2 separate regions of the Homo sapiens genome follow, and region 2 is linked to region 1. Evidence: promoter capture Hi-C in 16 types of primary human blood cells and fetal thymus (Javierre and others, 2016). All regions are on one chromosome and are shown on one strand. The core of a region is centred on a gene start or on the middle of the fragment in contact, and the rest is flanking DNA. Distances in the headings are between cores, read along the strand shown.

Evidence for each region. The method cuts DNA at HindIII sites, captures the fragments that hold promoters and counts their contacts. A CHiCAGO score of 5 or more calls a contact.
Region 2: a contact is called between a fragment that was not itself captured here and the fragment with the promoter of ANXA2R in region 1, in 1 of 17 cell types (naive CD4 T cells). The highest score is 5.1, in naive CD4 T cells.

The regions. Positions count from the first base shown.
Region 1 is chr5:43,035,705-43,042,886 of GRCh38, reverse strand. ANXA2R (annexin A2 receptor) reads left to right here and starts at 2,568. Exons shown (of 1, transcript NM_001014279.3): 1 at 2,568-3,516. The coding sequence starts at 2,841. The coding sequence ends at 3,422. All of the region lies in intron 2 of ANXA2R-OT1 (ANXA2R overlapping transcript 1), which reads left to right. It overlaps ANXA2R-AS1 (ANXA2R antisense RNA 1), which reads right to left and starts at 753. Exons shown (of 2, transcript NR_015447.1): 1 at 1-753. RefSeq lists enhancers at 1-199, 2,915-2,964, 2,975-3,384, 3,405-3,454, 3,146-3,686 and 3 more and a silencer at 2,305-2,574. The HindIII fragment of the contact is 14,499 bases long and covers 1-7,182 here.
Region 2 is chr5:43,556,657-43,564,515 of GRCh38, reverse strand. PAIP1 (poly(A) binding protein interacting protein 1) reads left to right here and starts at 7,439. Exons shown (of 11, transcript NM_006451.5): 1 at 7,439-7,859. The coding sequence starts at 7,670. RefSeq lists a silencer at 7,144-7,859. The HindIII fragment of the contact is 889 bases long and covers 4,526-5,414 here.

The DNA of each region.
Region 1 (7,182 bases), core at 1,319-3,818:
GGCGGTTTCTGGATCGCAGAACCACTGATTGCGCGGAGCTGGATGTACTTCTGTGGCCGCGCATGTTTCTCTGTGGTATCCCTACGGCTGTCGTCGAAATCGCGGTGTTTCTCTGGCCCCACCGCCACGTGGGCAACTTCTTCAGTGGCTGCGGGGTTCTCTCCACTGAGTTGCTGGTTTTGATCCACGCTTTCTCCCAGAGAGCAGACGAGACACTTTTCTGTTTGTGTCAACTGCTAGTCGTGCTGTGCACAGTTTCCTCGTCTCGGTGCGGGGCTTTCTCCATCCGAGGCCCTCTAGTGCCGGCTTCGCGGTCGCAGCACCCGGCGTTTCCGTTGGCTCTTTCGCCAGCGGCGCGAAGCCGGCGGTTTTGCTGTCACAGCACTTGCTGCACGGAGTTTCTCGGTAGCCGAACTTCTCTTTTTTTCTCAGAGTCGACGGTTTCTTGGTGACGGCACCGCTGGTTGCGCCAAAACAAATGTTGTCCTTGACAACCCCGCCGGCTGCATTCCCTTTCAGGCTCCTGGCACCGCCATTTCGGCGAGCCGTGGTCTCTTGTTCACAGCTCTGTGCCTCCATTTCTCGGTGGCGGCAGCCCTCAGGCCGCGGATCTGAGAGATTTAAAGTCGCAGCTGCCCCCGTTGCGCCGAGTCTGGCGTTGCCGGATGGGTGCTGCAGGGCTGGGCGGGGGGAGCCCGACGCTCCTTGGAGCCGGTGACAGGGGAGCTGCAGGGGCACAGTCTCTTCCCAGCGCCGCCGCACGGGTTCCGGCTCGGCCTCCAGAACGCAGTCCTGTGGCGGCGCCGCCGGCGTCTCTGTCGCAGGACCCCACGGTTTCGCGCGTCGTTGGCTTCTTAGTCCTAGCAAGTTTCGATTTCGCGGTGCCTGGGATTTCCACCCTCTGTCCAAGTAGGGGAATAGCCAAAATGTATTTTCTCAGCCCAAGCAAGTCCTGACTTAAGACAAACACCGGTCTAGCCCTGGCTGCGATATCTAGGCCGTAGGAACTCACCCGTTTCCCCATGCGAAGGCGAAGTTACCCTGTGACTCGTTGGTCAGCAGCTCCGGGTTTCCAGTGGCCTCGGATTTCTAATCATAACAACCATGGGGTCAGCCTAGCCTCAAGTTTCTTAGTCCTAGCAAGTTCCGGTTTCCTACTGGTAAGACTTGCTTTAGCTGCGCAGGAAATGTTTAACTCCTGTGGAAATCTGGGTACCAGCGAATGCTTTTTTTTTTTTTTTAAAGGTTTAGCGATGACCAGTTTAGCAGTGTTGGGAGCTCTTATACCAAGTTTGGTTTCGCAATATCGAGTCCTGTCTTAGCTATGCTTGTGTGTTTTTAAAACTCCCGTGGAAGTCAGGAAATGCCGGCGATCGCGATGTCTCAGTTTTACCAAGCTCCCTTTGACAATAGCAAGTCCTGCCCATCGAGACTTTTTCCTCTTGTAGACCAAATCGGGATGTACCAGCTACTACGATTTTTTAGACGTAGCTAAACACGTTTAACCGTGGATATTTTTGTTTTTTTTCTCGTAGGAAATTATGACAGGAGCAACCTGCAGGGGTTTAGATCTGACAGAAATATTCTAATGGTAGGCATTGCATCGCTTAGCCATATTTGTAATTTCTTCTTTGTAGGGTTGGTTCTCTGTAACTTTTGCTTACCTTAAAATTATTTTTGTGTCTTGCTCTGAGGACAATGTTACCGATGTGTTTTTCATTTTTACTTGCATTTCAGACTTTCATTATTTTAAATTATGTATTTTTTTTTTCTTCTAATTTTGAGCGTCTCAGATTCGTGCTTCTTGACTTTCATTCTCTCAGGAGCCGGGGAGCCGAGCTCGGTCTTAGCCTCGCTGGTATCAGGTTCCGGGTTCTGTCTGGAGGCTCCGCTTCCTATGCAGAGCTGGCGGTTTTGTATCAGCACGTTTGCCAGTGGCGCCCACTGGGCGTTTTCTCAGTTGCTGCACCCAACGTGACATTTCCCGTTCGCGGGGTCCTTAGGTTCTCAGTGCTGTCACTTTTTCGCTCCTACAACCGCTAGTATCTCCTAGGAACTTCCTGAACCCCGTTTTGCCGTGCAGAACGGTGATTGCACCGAGCCGCTGTTCGCACTAGTAATTGTGTGGTACCATTAGCCGGCGCTTTTTCTGTCACAACCCATTAAAACGGGTTAAAACATATTAAACCTATCAAACACATTGAACGGATTAAAACACATTAAATGCCGCAACACATTTTTCTGGTACAACACATTGAAACAGAGTTGGTTCATTCCTCCAAACAGGTTGTTTAGGTGTGGAAGCACCGCTCTTAGTTCTAAGAGCATGCTGTTTCTCTTTAGCAGCACCCTTTACGGCGCCAAAACGGATATTTGTTTGGCAATACCAGCGCTATCCGCTAGGTGCCGGCGCTTGCTAAGTTCAACGCGCCAGTTTCTCGTTTGCAAGGTGGTTAGGGCAGAGCCCTAGCAGACAGTTTTCCGGTGGCAGCAACGCTCATTTCCCGGAAACGGGTGGTTCTTGGCCCTTGCGCGCTCTTGAATACCTGCGTTCTGTAGCGCTAGTTCTCTTCAAGATTTGCTTAGTGTCATTTCATTTCGGTTTCTTTTCTCGCCATGTTTTTCTGTCGGAATTACGGTTCGTTTTGGTTCTATGTACTCTCTAAAATGTTATCGTTTTTCATTTGTCTACTAATTTTCGTGCATTTGTTACTACTGAGTTTCTTAATATCTGACTGGCCTCCGCCCACGGGCTCTGCAGAGCATAAATACTCAGGCTGATGGTAGTGCAGAGACTCTCCCTCCTTGATCAGCGCAAACGTTGGTCTGAGGCTTGAGGGATGGAGCAACATTTTCTTGGCTGTGTGAAGCGGGCTTGGGATTCCGCAGAGGTGGCGCCAGAGCCCCAGCCTCCACCTATTGTGAGTTCAGAAGATCGTGGGCCGTGGCCTCTTCCTTTGTATCCAGTACTAGGAGAGTACTCACTGGACAGCTGTGATTTGGGACTGCTTTCCAGCCCTTGCTGGCGGCTGCCCGGAGTCTACTGGCAAAACGGACTCTCTCCTGGAGTCCAGAGCACCTTGGAACCAAGTACAGCGAAGCCCACTGAGTTCAGTTGGCCGGGGACACAGAAGCAGCAAGAGGCACCCGTAGAAGAGGTGGGGCAGGCAGAGGAACCCGACAGACTCAGGCTCCAGCAGCTTCCCTGGAGCAGTCCTCTCCATCCCTGGGACAGACAGCAGGACACCGAGGTCTGTGACAGCGGGTGCCTTTTGGAACGCCGCCATCCTCCTGCCCTCCAGCCGTGGCGCCACCTCCCGGGTTTCTCAGACTGCCTGGAGTGGATTCTTCGCGTTGGTTTTGCCGCGTTCTCTGTACTCTGGGCGTGCTGTTCACGGATCTGTGGAGCTAAGCAGCCTTAGATAGCAGCAGAAGGCTTTTTGGATTCTCCTCCTTGAAAAGATTCTCAGTTACCAAACGTCTCCACCTAGAAAATAAAAATACATTAAGATGTGCTTTCATTGCTGGTTGTCAGTTTTTAAATTCTCTTTTTCCCTTATGTTTCTTTCTTGTTTCGCGTCGCTTATTACTTTCAGTTTCCTTGTATTTTAAATATTTGTATTTATTTCATTAAATATTTCATTCGTATCTGTTTTCACTTTGAGAAATCTATTTTACGATTGTAGAATTCTTAGAGTTTTTGGCAAATTTAAAATTTGTTTTTTTCCATTGTATTTTAAAATCTTATTCCTACTATTTTTCTAATTATTGCTTTTTAAATGTATTGTTTGTTTACATTTAATTTTATATCATGTCTTTTACGTTATTATAACGTCTTTTTAATTTTAATTGTTAATTTTATTTTTAACAGCGGTCTTTCTTTTTTTCAGTATATCGATTCATTGTTTTACACTCAGGAATTTTATTCACGATCATAAGACTGAGAGGTTTATCAATCTTTGCTATTTCTCGTGGAAGGACCACGCAATTACTTATATTAATACAACTTCACAGATGACCAGTTCTTAAGATTACTTATTCTGGCGGGGCAGCGTGGCTCACGGCAGTAATCCCAGCACTTTCAGCAGCGGAGGCATGCGGATTGCTTGAGCTCAGGAGTTTGAGAAAAGCCTGGGCGACAGGGTGAGGCCTGTGTCTACAAAAAATGCAAAAGTTAGCCCTGTGAGATGGTGTGCACCTGTAGTCCCAGCTGCTCCGGAGGCTGGGGTGGGCGGGTTGCTTGAGCTCAGGAGGTCGAGGCTGCGGTGAGCCGGATAGCACCAACGCCCTCCAGCAGAGCGAGAGCCTGTCTCAAAATAAATAAATAATTGAAAAGACTACTTATTCATGGGTCTCAGGGCTAGCAGTGTTTCCAGCGTCTTTTTCTTTGGAACAGTTTAGCTTGGCTTATAAGAGAACTACCAGTTACTTAATGGTACCACAACTGGGTTTAGCAATTCGGGTAGGCACAGCAGGTCCGGCTTGGCCCTGCCTGCTTTGACTGCCTTTTCGGGAGTTTTAAACCTCCTACACTCGGAATGTAGCCCTGATTGTGGTTTCTCTGCATAGCAAGTTCGGACTTAAGCGGAATAAGTATCGGCTTATTTCGCCTGCGATAAAGATGCTTAATTCTGCGTTCGAAATATTCTGAGCGAGTCCTGGGTTAGGGATTTCTTAGAGTAACAAGTGCATGCTTCGATTTTAAGTGCCCCTGTGAATGTGATTTCTTAGCTCTTGCAAGTCCATATTTGGTCGCAACCAGTACTAGCATAGCCATGCCTGCGACTCCTTAGTCCCAGTAACTTTCGGTTTCATAATAACTTACCCTGCTTTACTTATGCCTGAGTTTTAAATATAGAAGTCCGGGCACGTAGGTGAAGAAGATATTTTAGGAGTAGCAAGTAGCGGTTTAGCAGTGTCTGCAGTCCCTTAGTTAGAAGTCCTGGTGAGACCGAGCAGATACTGATATAGGCCTGACAGCGATATTACCTCTGTGAAACCACATTGTTTAGAAGTGTTTGCATTTTCTTCTTTGTAGAGTCCATTTTTCCATGTTTTGCTTAGTTTTGAATTTTCATTTGATGAATCTTCCCAAATGTATTGTTTTTATTGTGTGTGCGTGTGTTTTTCAGCTAACTTGCCCTTTAAAAAAAAATTGTTCCTAATTTTTGTTTTGCTGACCCTCAGCTTTATGCTGTCTGGTTTGCGCTGGCCTGTAATTCCCGGAACTAAATATTCTATTCTTTTGGCCTAACTGGCCTTTCGTCGATGGCATTACTGCTAGTTTTGCCGCTCTAGGTGCTCCTCGGTGTTAGCACTGCCGGTTGCTTCTGTGAGGCTTGCTAGAGCCCAGGACGCTGAGGTGCTGGGTGACCCCGTTTCGGTGCAACCACTCCGAAGGTTCTCGGTTTATCCAGCTGTGTTTTGGAACAAATGCCAATTCTTCCTGGGAGCAAGTGTCTTTCAGTCGCGTTCCTGGCTGTTTTCTTCAAAAGCAGGCGTTTCTCCTGGTAGCACCGCTTGTTGGCGACGTCGGATTCTTTTCCGTGGCAGTACTGGTCGTTTCATGGAGTGGCCGGTTTCTCACTCGCACTGTGCCGGCTGGCAGTTATTCCGTGGAGGCGCAGCTCTCAGCCGCTTCCCTTGGTTCTCGGTGTCGGCTGTCCCTGTACCTGCGTTTGTGGCGGTATTTCTGTCACAATCGAGTCTGTGTTTTTTCGATGACAACGCCATTCATTTCTCTAAAACAGGCTATGTTTGGAATTGGCAATTTTTCTTTGTCAGAGTCCTTGGTTTCGCAGAGCCTGTTGTTCCAGGTTACTGGACTGCTGTTTGCTCCGTGCTAGCAATGTTGCACCCAGTACCGTTAGGTGCTCCCTGTTGGAGTTTTGAGACAGCGTTTTGAGATAGGTGCACCAGCACTCCAGACCTGGCACCTGAAGAAAGCATTATCATTTCAAGCTCAGTAGGGGCAATAGAATGAGTGGTGTTAGAGAAAGCAAGCAGATGCTTGAAGAAAGGGCCACTCCACAGTATTTTTTGGCTTTTTTTTTTTTTTCACTTTTTTTGAGACAGGGTCTGGCTGTGTCCCCCAGGCTGGAGTGCAGTGGCACAAGCATAGCTCACTGCAGCCTCAACCATCCTGGGTCATGCAGTCCTCCCTTCTCAGCCTCATAAGTAGCTGGGACTACAGGTATGTGCCACCATGCCTGGCTACTGTGTGTGTGTGTGTGTGTGTGTGTGTGTGTGTGTATGTATGTGTGTGTGTGGAGATGGCTTATCTTTCTATTACCCAAGATGGTTTTGAACTCCTGGCCTCAAGTAATCCTCCTGCCTCGGCCTCCCAAAGTGCTGTGGTTGCAGGTGTGAATCACCACAGCCAGCCTATTTTTTACTTCAGATAAAATATTTCAGTACCCTGAGGTCTAGGTGAAACAAAACAAGGTAATAAATTACTAATCCATATCTCTGAACAGCTGTTGTCTTTCAGTGTCTAAACTCAATCAGAAGCCTGGGAGCAAAAGTAGCTCTCCAGTGCAGTCCATACAGGTTGCTTCTTGCAGCGCAGTGCTGACTGAAGAGCCTTAAGCGGATCTAGAGAGGCAGACTGTTACCTAGCAGTGTCTTTATGTTGGTCAACCTATTCACAGTGGTAACTTTTTTATTTTTTTATTTTTTTTTTTATACAATCTCCCATTGAAACCCAGGCTGGAGTGCATTGGCACGATTTCGGCTCACGGCAACCTCTGCCTCCTGGGTTCAAGTAATTCTTGTGACTCAGCCTCCCGAGTAGCTGGGATTACAGGCATGCACCACCACACCCGGCTAATCTTCTTGTATTTTTGGTAGAAACCGGGTTTTGCTATGTTGGTGGGGCTGGTCTCCAACTCCTGGCCTCAAGTGATCTGCCCACCTTGGACTCCCAAAGTGCTAGAATTTCAGTCATGAACTACCCCACCTGGCCCACAATGGTAACTTTTAAAAATGGTCTAACAACAACTCTGTACTCATAATTTCAACAAATTAGATAAAATGCATCAATCCTGCGAGATCCAGTCTACCCAACTCATGAAAAATAATCTGTAAATTTTTGCAATTATTAAAGATATTGAATTCATGGTCAAAAATCTTCCAAAAAAAAAACAAAAACAAAAACAAAAAACCTAGAGGTTCTTACCATTT
Region 2 (7,859 bases), core at 3,721-6,220, 520 kb before region 1:
AGGTGGTGGGAGATAATTGAATCATGGGTTAGTTTCCTCCACACTATTCTCGTGGTAGTAAATAAGTCTCACGAGATCTGATGGTTTTATAAGGGGTTTCCCTTTTTCCTTGGTTCTCGTTCTCTTTTGTCTGCTGCCATGTAAGAATGCCTTTCTCCTTCCTCCATGATTGTGAGGCCTCCCCAGCCATGTGGAACTGTAAGTCTATTAAACCTCTTTTTCTTTATAAATTACCCAGTCTCGGGTATGCCTATCAGCAGCATGAGAATAGACTAATAAAACCTCTGATCCAAATTTCTCCAAAGCTATCAACTCGGCTTTTTAATATGTAAACCTTCTTAAAGTTTCAAAATGAGGACTGAAGGAAATAAAAATATTTCACCCCAAAATGTATTTATTTGACATATTTTGCCATGGCTGTTCAGAGGGCCTGCAAATAGAAGTATCCCTGCAAAGCTGCCTTTTGTGGGGGAGAGCTGCATCTGTAGAGAAAATCTGTATTGATGCAGCCAGGTTCTTTCTGAGGCCTTCCAATGTCTATATCAAGAAAAGATTAACTGAGAGTCTGATGACTTTAAAGTTCTGAAAAATTATTCACCATCTAGCCTCTCTGAGGTCTGCTACCTATTAGGTTTCATCTATATAACGAGACCACCTTTGCTAGCCAGGCTTCCTCTTATCTCTGTCTCCCATAACCTGTTTTGTCATTGTAACCTGTTTTGTCACAATCTAAGCCCCCATTCTTCCTGTCACCTCAATATGGTATATAAGCTTCTGAACCCCATTAGGGGTTGGAGTGATCACTCTATGGTTCTCCCCCATGTACATGTTAAGAAATTTGTATGTCTTTTCTCCAATTAGTCTGCCTTTTGTCAGCAAATTTTTCAGTGAAACTTCAGAGGCCAAAGCAGAAATTTTCCTTGGCGTCTATCCCTAAATCTGTTTCCTTTTGGTATTTTCCATCTTACAGGCTGAGGCACCAAAGCCAGAATCCTGGAACTCACCCTGATCTCTGGCCTCTCACTAATGCCTCACACACAATCTGTCAACTTCTTCCTCAACATCTCTTCAGTGTGGCCTTTCCCTCCAAACCCACTAGCACCACCTTACTAGACACCATCATTTATCACCAGAACGTCTGCAATAGCCACCGAACTTGTTTCCCTGCTTCATGTCTCATATGCCTCAAACCTACTAATCTCACACCCCTGCATATCCTCAGCACCTGGAACACTGCTGGCATGAAGTAGACACAAAATCAGTATTTGTTGAATTAACAAGTGAATGAATGAATTCCTATTGCGGGGGCCAAAGAATAACTTCCCCTTTGCTCTCTAAAGTTTTACTGAAAAATCAACTGACAAAAGATATATTAAAAGAAATGACTGTGAGGCCGGGCACGGTGGCTCACGCCTGTAATCCCAGCACTTTGGGAGGCCGAGGCAGGTGGATCACAAGGTCAGGAGTTCGAGACCAGCCTGGCCAATATGGTGAAACCCCGTTTATACTAAAAATACAAAAATTAGCCGGGCGTGGTGACGTGTGCCTGTAATCCCAGCCACTTGGGAGGCTGAGGCAGGAGAATCACTGAACCCAGGGAGGCGGAGGTCGCAGTGAACCGAAATCATGCCATTGCACTCTAGCCTGGGTGACACAGCGAGACTCCGTCTCAAAAAAAAAAAAAAAAGAAATGACTATGCTCAGAGGAGACTCAGAAAGTAATTACCCAAATGGGGTACAGAAGCTGATATACTTACTATCTTGAAGTTACAGAAAGAGAGGAATCCCAGCACATAGCCAAAAACAGATTATGGTGTTAAATCGGTTATAGTAGCAAGACACGGTAGGGGAGAGAGAGAGAGAAGAGGAGAACTGGCTAGCAAAGGTGGTCTTATTATGTAGATGAAATCTCACAGGTAGCAGTCCTCAGAGAGAATGTTTATAAACCTTTAAAGGTATCAGAGTCTCAGTTAATCTTTCCTAGATGGGACAAGTGAGGGTCTCAGAGAAAGCCTCACTGCATCAATGCAAGTTGTCTCTACAGATCCAATCTTCCCCAAAAAAGGCAGGTTTTTAGCTACTCTTATATTTTCAGCCCATCCAAATAACCATCTTGAACTATGTCAAGGTGAAATATTTTGGTTTCTTTCATTAGCCTCGTGGAATTTACAGTACAGCTAAGAGATCAACGTTAAACAAGTATCAGTAGATATTGAGGAGATTCCAAGCAGCATTCCTGGCTATCTTAGACTCTAAGATGAATTGGGGCCCTAATCCAGATGGGAGTCTCAAGAGCTGACTGCCTGGGGTTACTTTTAATAGTGGCCAGAGGAAGATAATTTACACAGATGAGAAACACAAGGACAAATGCATCAGCTAATTTTTTTCTCTCTTAATGATGCCCCCACTCATTTATAATGATATGTAAGTTGCCATGATGATTTGTGCAGAAAGGAGTGAACTGAACTAGCTAGGAGAGAATTAGGAGTGATGGAATAACATGGAACGAAGTTTATTTATATGTTAGGTTTCTAAAACTTAGTTGTAGATTCACATGCAATTGTAAGAAATAATACAGAGAGAACTTGTTTACTCTTCACCTTGTTTCCCCCAATAGTAACATCTTGTATAACTATAAGTGATACAGTTCACCAACCTTAGTTTTATATGCACATGTGTGTATGTGTGTGTATGTGTGCACACTTATTTCTATGCAATGTTATCACATGTATAGACTTATGTGACCATCATTATAGTAAAGAACAAAATAGTTCCATCACAAGGTTTTTCTCATGCTACCTACTTTTTTAATAACCCCATCTACTTGCCTCTAAATTCCACTCCCTCCTTAACCCCTGGCAACCACAAATCTGCTCTCCATCTTCATAATTTTGTCATAAATTGAATCATACAATTGCTCTTGAGATTGAAATTTTGTGTTCAGCATAATTCCCTTGAGATCCATCAACATTCTTATATGAGCAGTTGTTCCTTTTTTTTGCTGAGTAGCATTCTGTGGTATGAATGTACCACAGTTTAACTATTCATCAAAGGATATTTGGGTTCTTTCTAATTTGGGGCTCTTATTAATGATGCCACTCTAAATATTTGGGTACAGGATTTTATGTGAATATAAATCTTAATTCTCTGTGAGAAATGTCCAGCAGTGCAATTGCTAGGTAGTACAGTACTTAATATGTAGAGTTTTTTAAAGAAACTGTTTTCTAAAGTGACTATAGCATTTTACATTCTCACCAGCAATGTATGAGCAACACAGTTCCTAGTTTCTCTACATCCTTGAATTTGCATTGTCACTATTGTTTATTTAAGCTATTCGAATAAGTAGGTAGTGAAATCTCAGTGGTTTTAAAAAAATTTTCCTACTGGCTAATTATGTTGAACATTTTTCATAGGCTTATGCTATCTGTATATTCCCTTCAGTGAAGTGTTCTTTCATTTATGTTTGGCCCTTTTCTAACTGAACTGTCCTTTTACAGTTGAGTTAGGTGTTTTGTTTGTTTGGGTTTTTTTCAGACGGAGTCACGCTCAACCCAGGCTGGAGTGCAGTGGTGCAATCTCGGCTCACTGCAACCTCTGCCTCCCGGGTTCAAGCGATTCCCCTGCCTCAGCCTCCCAAGTAGCTGGGATTACAAGCACGCATCACCATGCCTGCTAATTTTTGTATTTTTAGTAGAGACGGGGTTTCACATGTTGTCCAGGTTGGTCTCGAACTCCTGACCTCAGGTAATCTGTCCGCCTCAGCCTCCCATAGTGCTGGGATCGCACCTGGCTATAGTACTCTCAATACAGTTGAGTTCTGAGAGTACTTTATATATTCTAGATACAAGTCTTTTGTCAAATATGTGGTGCCTTCATCCATTTTTGTTGCTATAAAGGAATAGCTGAGGCTGGGTAATTTATAAAGAAAAGGGTTTCATTTGGCTCACTATTCTGCAGGCTGTACTAGAAGCATGGCACCAACATCTGCTTCTGGTGAGGGCTTCAGCCTGCTTCTATGCATGGCAGAAAGTGAAGGGGAGACAGTGTGCAGAGATTACATGGCAAGAGAGGAAGCATGAGACAGGGGGAGTGTGCCAGGCTCTTTTCAACAACCAGCTCTTGGGGAAACTCCTTGGGAACTAGTAAAACCATAACTCATTCGTTACTGTGAGAATGGCACCATGCCATTCATGAGGAATCTGCCACCATGACCCAAACGCCTTCCATTAGGCCCCACCTCCAACATTCAGGATCAAGTTTCAACAGGAGGCTTGGAGGGTCAAATATACAAACTATACCATGTGGTTTGCAAATATTTCCTCTTGCATATTTATGAAAATTTTCTCCTGTTAGCTGGCCTTGAAGGCTGTACTGTCTACTCCCATAAGGTCTAATGATGATCCTGAGGTCAATAAGTTCTAAAAAAACAGTCTTTTTTTTTTTTTTTTTTTTTTTACCATCACTAGACTGGTGACCTAAGGAAAGGCAGGACCATTGCAGGTGAGTCCTATTTCTGTTAAAAGCTTATTATGGACTAAGTACTGGGTTGGACCTAAAGGATTAAAAGGCATCCTCTGTCTTCAGAGGGCTAGTTTAGGGAAGGAGACATTTAAATAAACCAAATACTAACGATAACAATCTGGCATGCTAAGTACCAAGACAGTTTTCCCAGGGTATACTTATCACAAGGGAGAGAATCTAAGATTAGGCAGCTTGGGAAGTCTTACTGGAGAATGCCTTTCAAGTACAGTTTAAGGAAACATTTTTTTCATAGTTCACAGCAGGTCCTTTTCCATATTACAACATATTTTCCAATTTGTCCAAATTTAGTTCTACTCTCCTTTCACCATAAATTAATAAAAAAGGCATACACGTGGATGAGGAGCACTTTGATGATTCTCTTTAGGGAGTTCCACATGGTGTTCACACGTTCATGTGTTTCTGTCTATGCATTTTGCAATACCTGCCAGTTAGCTCTAAAACAGTCCCAAGATGGATCTGAGCCCTTGCGGTATCTTGGCACCTTTTATGTAAAGTGAAAATATTGGAATGTCTATCTCACAGGATATGAGGATAAAATAAAATGATAAAATAAAAGCTCTTAAAAGGTGACTGACGCATAATAAATATTAGATATTTTTATTATCATGATGCAAAATCCATTCGTGTTATCTCCAAGTCCACCATCCACACATTATAAGAATAGGGCAAAAGTTATACAGTAACAAATACAGAGAAGGCAAAGGATATCTTACCTAATTTTCCTAACAAGAGGGTGTGAAGATGTCGTGACATCACCATGGATGCAGAATGGCCTTATCTTCACATGGGAAAGTCCCAGTTGTTAGAAAAGGTGCTGTTCATCATAAAAGTTTTAAGGGGAAATGAAAAGGTGGTGAGTGCAAACAAAAGCTTGGGGCAGAGTTGGGGCATCTACTTCAGTGGAACATAACTCATTGTTAGTTTTTTAGCATAGTTTATGGGTCTTTCCTGTATGATAAAAAAGTCCAGGCAAGAAGTGACTGGTGACCACATACAATAATGAATTTGAAAATATTAAAATTGTAATTTTTAAATTGTAATCTTGTCTCTGCAATATATGCTGAGTGTTACCACACAGTTATTATTTTACAGATGAGGAAAGTGAGGCTCAGAGAAGCTAAACCCCTTACTTACTCAAAATCACACAGACAGCAATAGTCAAGAGTGGAATCCCAACTAAGCTCTGGCAGACTGAATCCTAAACTTTCCGTACACCGAAGAGCCACACGTACTGCTGGCTTCCTTCCCTGACTTCATTATTTTGCCTAACATCAATAGCATGAACCATTTATTCATGATTGCCCTCGGTGAAGCCATTTTCTCATTCGTTTAGGGGAAGACATTGTTTTCTTTATTAATGAGAAGAGAAAACGGTTAACAAGAGTTTGTGTCCCTAATTGAAATGATTCTTAAGATGAAAAGATAGAAAAACATGAAACCCTGCTTAAAACAAAAGGCTAAAATCAGAATTTATGGAGATGGATCAATCCAACAGTAAAGAAATCAATTTTTCCTTCCTTGTCGTTACTTATATTCATCTATCCTTTATTTGGCATTAATACTGTCAGGCCTGACAAAAACAACAATTTACATATTAATAAAATCTAGAATTGTGCTGTGCAACGCAGTAGCCACTAGCCACATGTGGCTCTTGAGCCCTTGAAATGTGCCAATCCCGACTAAGATGTGCCATAAGTGTAAAATATACACTGGATTTCAACTAGTATCTAAAAAACAGAGAAAATATTTAATATTTTAAATCGCATGTTAAAAAACCATTTTGAACATAATGGATTAAATAAATTTAAATTAATTTCACCTGGTTTTTGTTTTGTTTTGTTTTGTTTTTTGAGACAGAGTTTGGCTCTTGTTGCCCAGGCTGGAGTGCAACGGTACGATCTCGGCTCACTGCAACCTCTGCCTCCTGCGTTCAAGCGATTCTCCTGCCTCAGCCTCCAGAATAGCTAGGATTACAGGCATGTGCCACCACGCCCGGCTAACTTTGTATTTTTAGTAGAGACGGGGTTTCTCCATGTTGGTCTGGCTGGTCTCGAACTCCCGACCTCAGGTGATCCGCCCCCCTCGGCCTCCCAAAGTGCTGGGATTACAGGCGTGAGCCACTGCGCCTGGCCACACCTGTTTCTTTTCACTCATTTAATGTGGCTTCTCCAAAATGTAAAATTACATAAGTGGCTTGCATTTGTGGCTCGCATTATATTTTCATTGGACAGCACTGATGCAAGATGAAAAAGAGGGCAGAGTTACACTGAAAGGTAGCACATTTTCTTGAAATTTCTGGAGGGGAAGGTTAACGGGAAGAGAACGAAGCTTGTTAAACGTAGGTGTGACCTACTGTGGTAAACACCTAGGGTGAATTAAAGAGGGGACACATATTTTGATTCCGTTTCTACTCCCTTCCCCCGATGCTAACGGAGCAGGTGACAGTCTCCCAGGGACCACTCCTCAGCAGTCCGCGGGTCTCGGCCGGAGCCGAGTCATTGAACACACCTGTGCGCCAGCGAACCCTGGCGCAGGGTCCACGCCCCCTCCCCCCGTGTTTTTATTTCCCGGGCGTCAACTGTCGGTCTCGCACGTCTCTCCTGAGAACTACCGAGTAGGTCGGGCCTGCCTGTGGTAAGCGTCCCCCTCACCCCTCATCCCTCATCCCCCCCAGCCTGGCCCCGGAACCGAGATGCCCCTGCCCGAGCCTGGCTGCGGGCCGGCAGGTGGCCAAGACGCCACTCGGCGGGCGGCCTGCTGGGCCCGGCGGCCGGCCAGCCGCGAACTGGAGGATCCTCGCGGGCGCGTCCCGGGCCTCCGGGCCGCAGGGGGCCGCTGTGACCCGCCTGCGCCCCTGCCGCGCCGAAGGCGGGGAGCCGGGTTTTGGGGGAGAACTGGAAAGCCGAGGGTAGCCGAGCGGGGCGGGCGCTCTGGAGCGGCGGGTGCTCGGGCTGCCGTCCGCTCCGCCAGAAGCACCGAGCAGCCGAGCCGGGGCCCGCCGCCCTCCTCCTCCATGAGGCCCGAGTGAGGCGCGGCGGCTATAGCCGACCCGCGGCGCCTTCCCCCCGCGTCCTATCGCGAGCGCAGCGGCAGCGGCCCCTGGAGGAGGAGGCGGAGGAGGAGGAGCATGTCGGACGGTTTCGATCGGGCCCCAGGTGCTGGTCGGGGCCGGAGCCGGGGCCTGGGCCGCGGAGGGGGCGGGCCTGAGGGCGGCGGTTTCCCGAACGGAGCGGGGCCTGCTGAGCGGGCGCGGCACCAGCCGCCGCAACCCAAAGCCCCGGGCTTCCTGCAGCCACCGCCGCTGCGCCAGCCCAGGA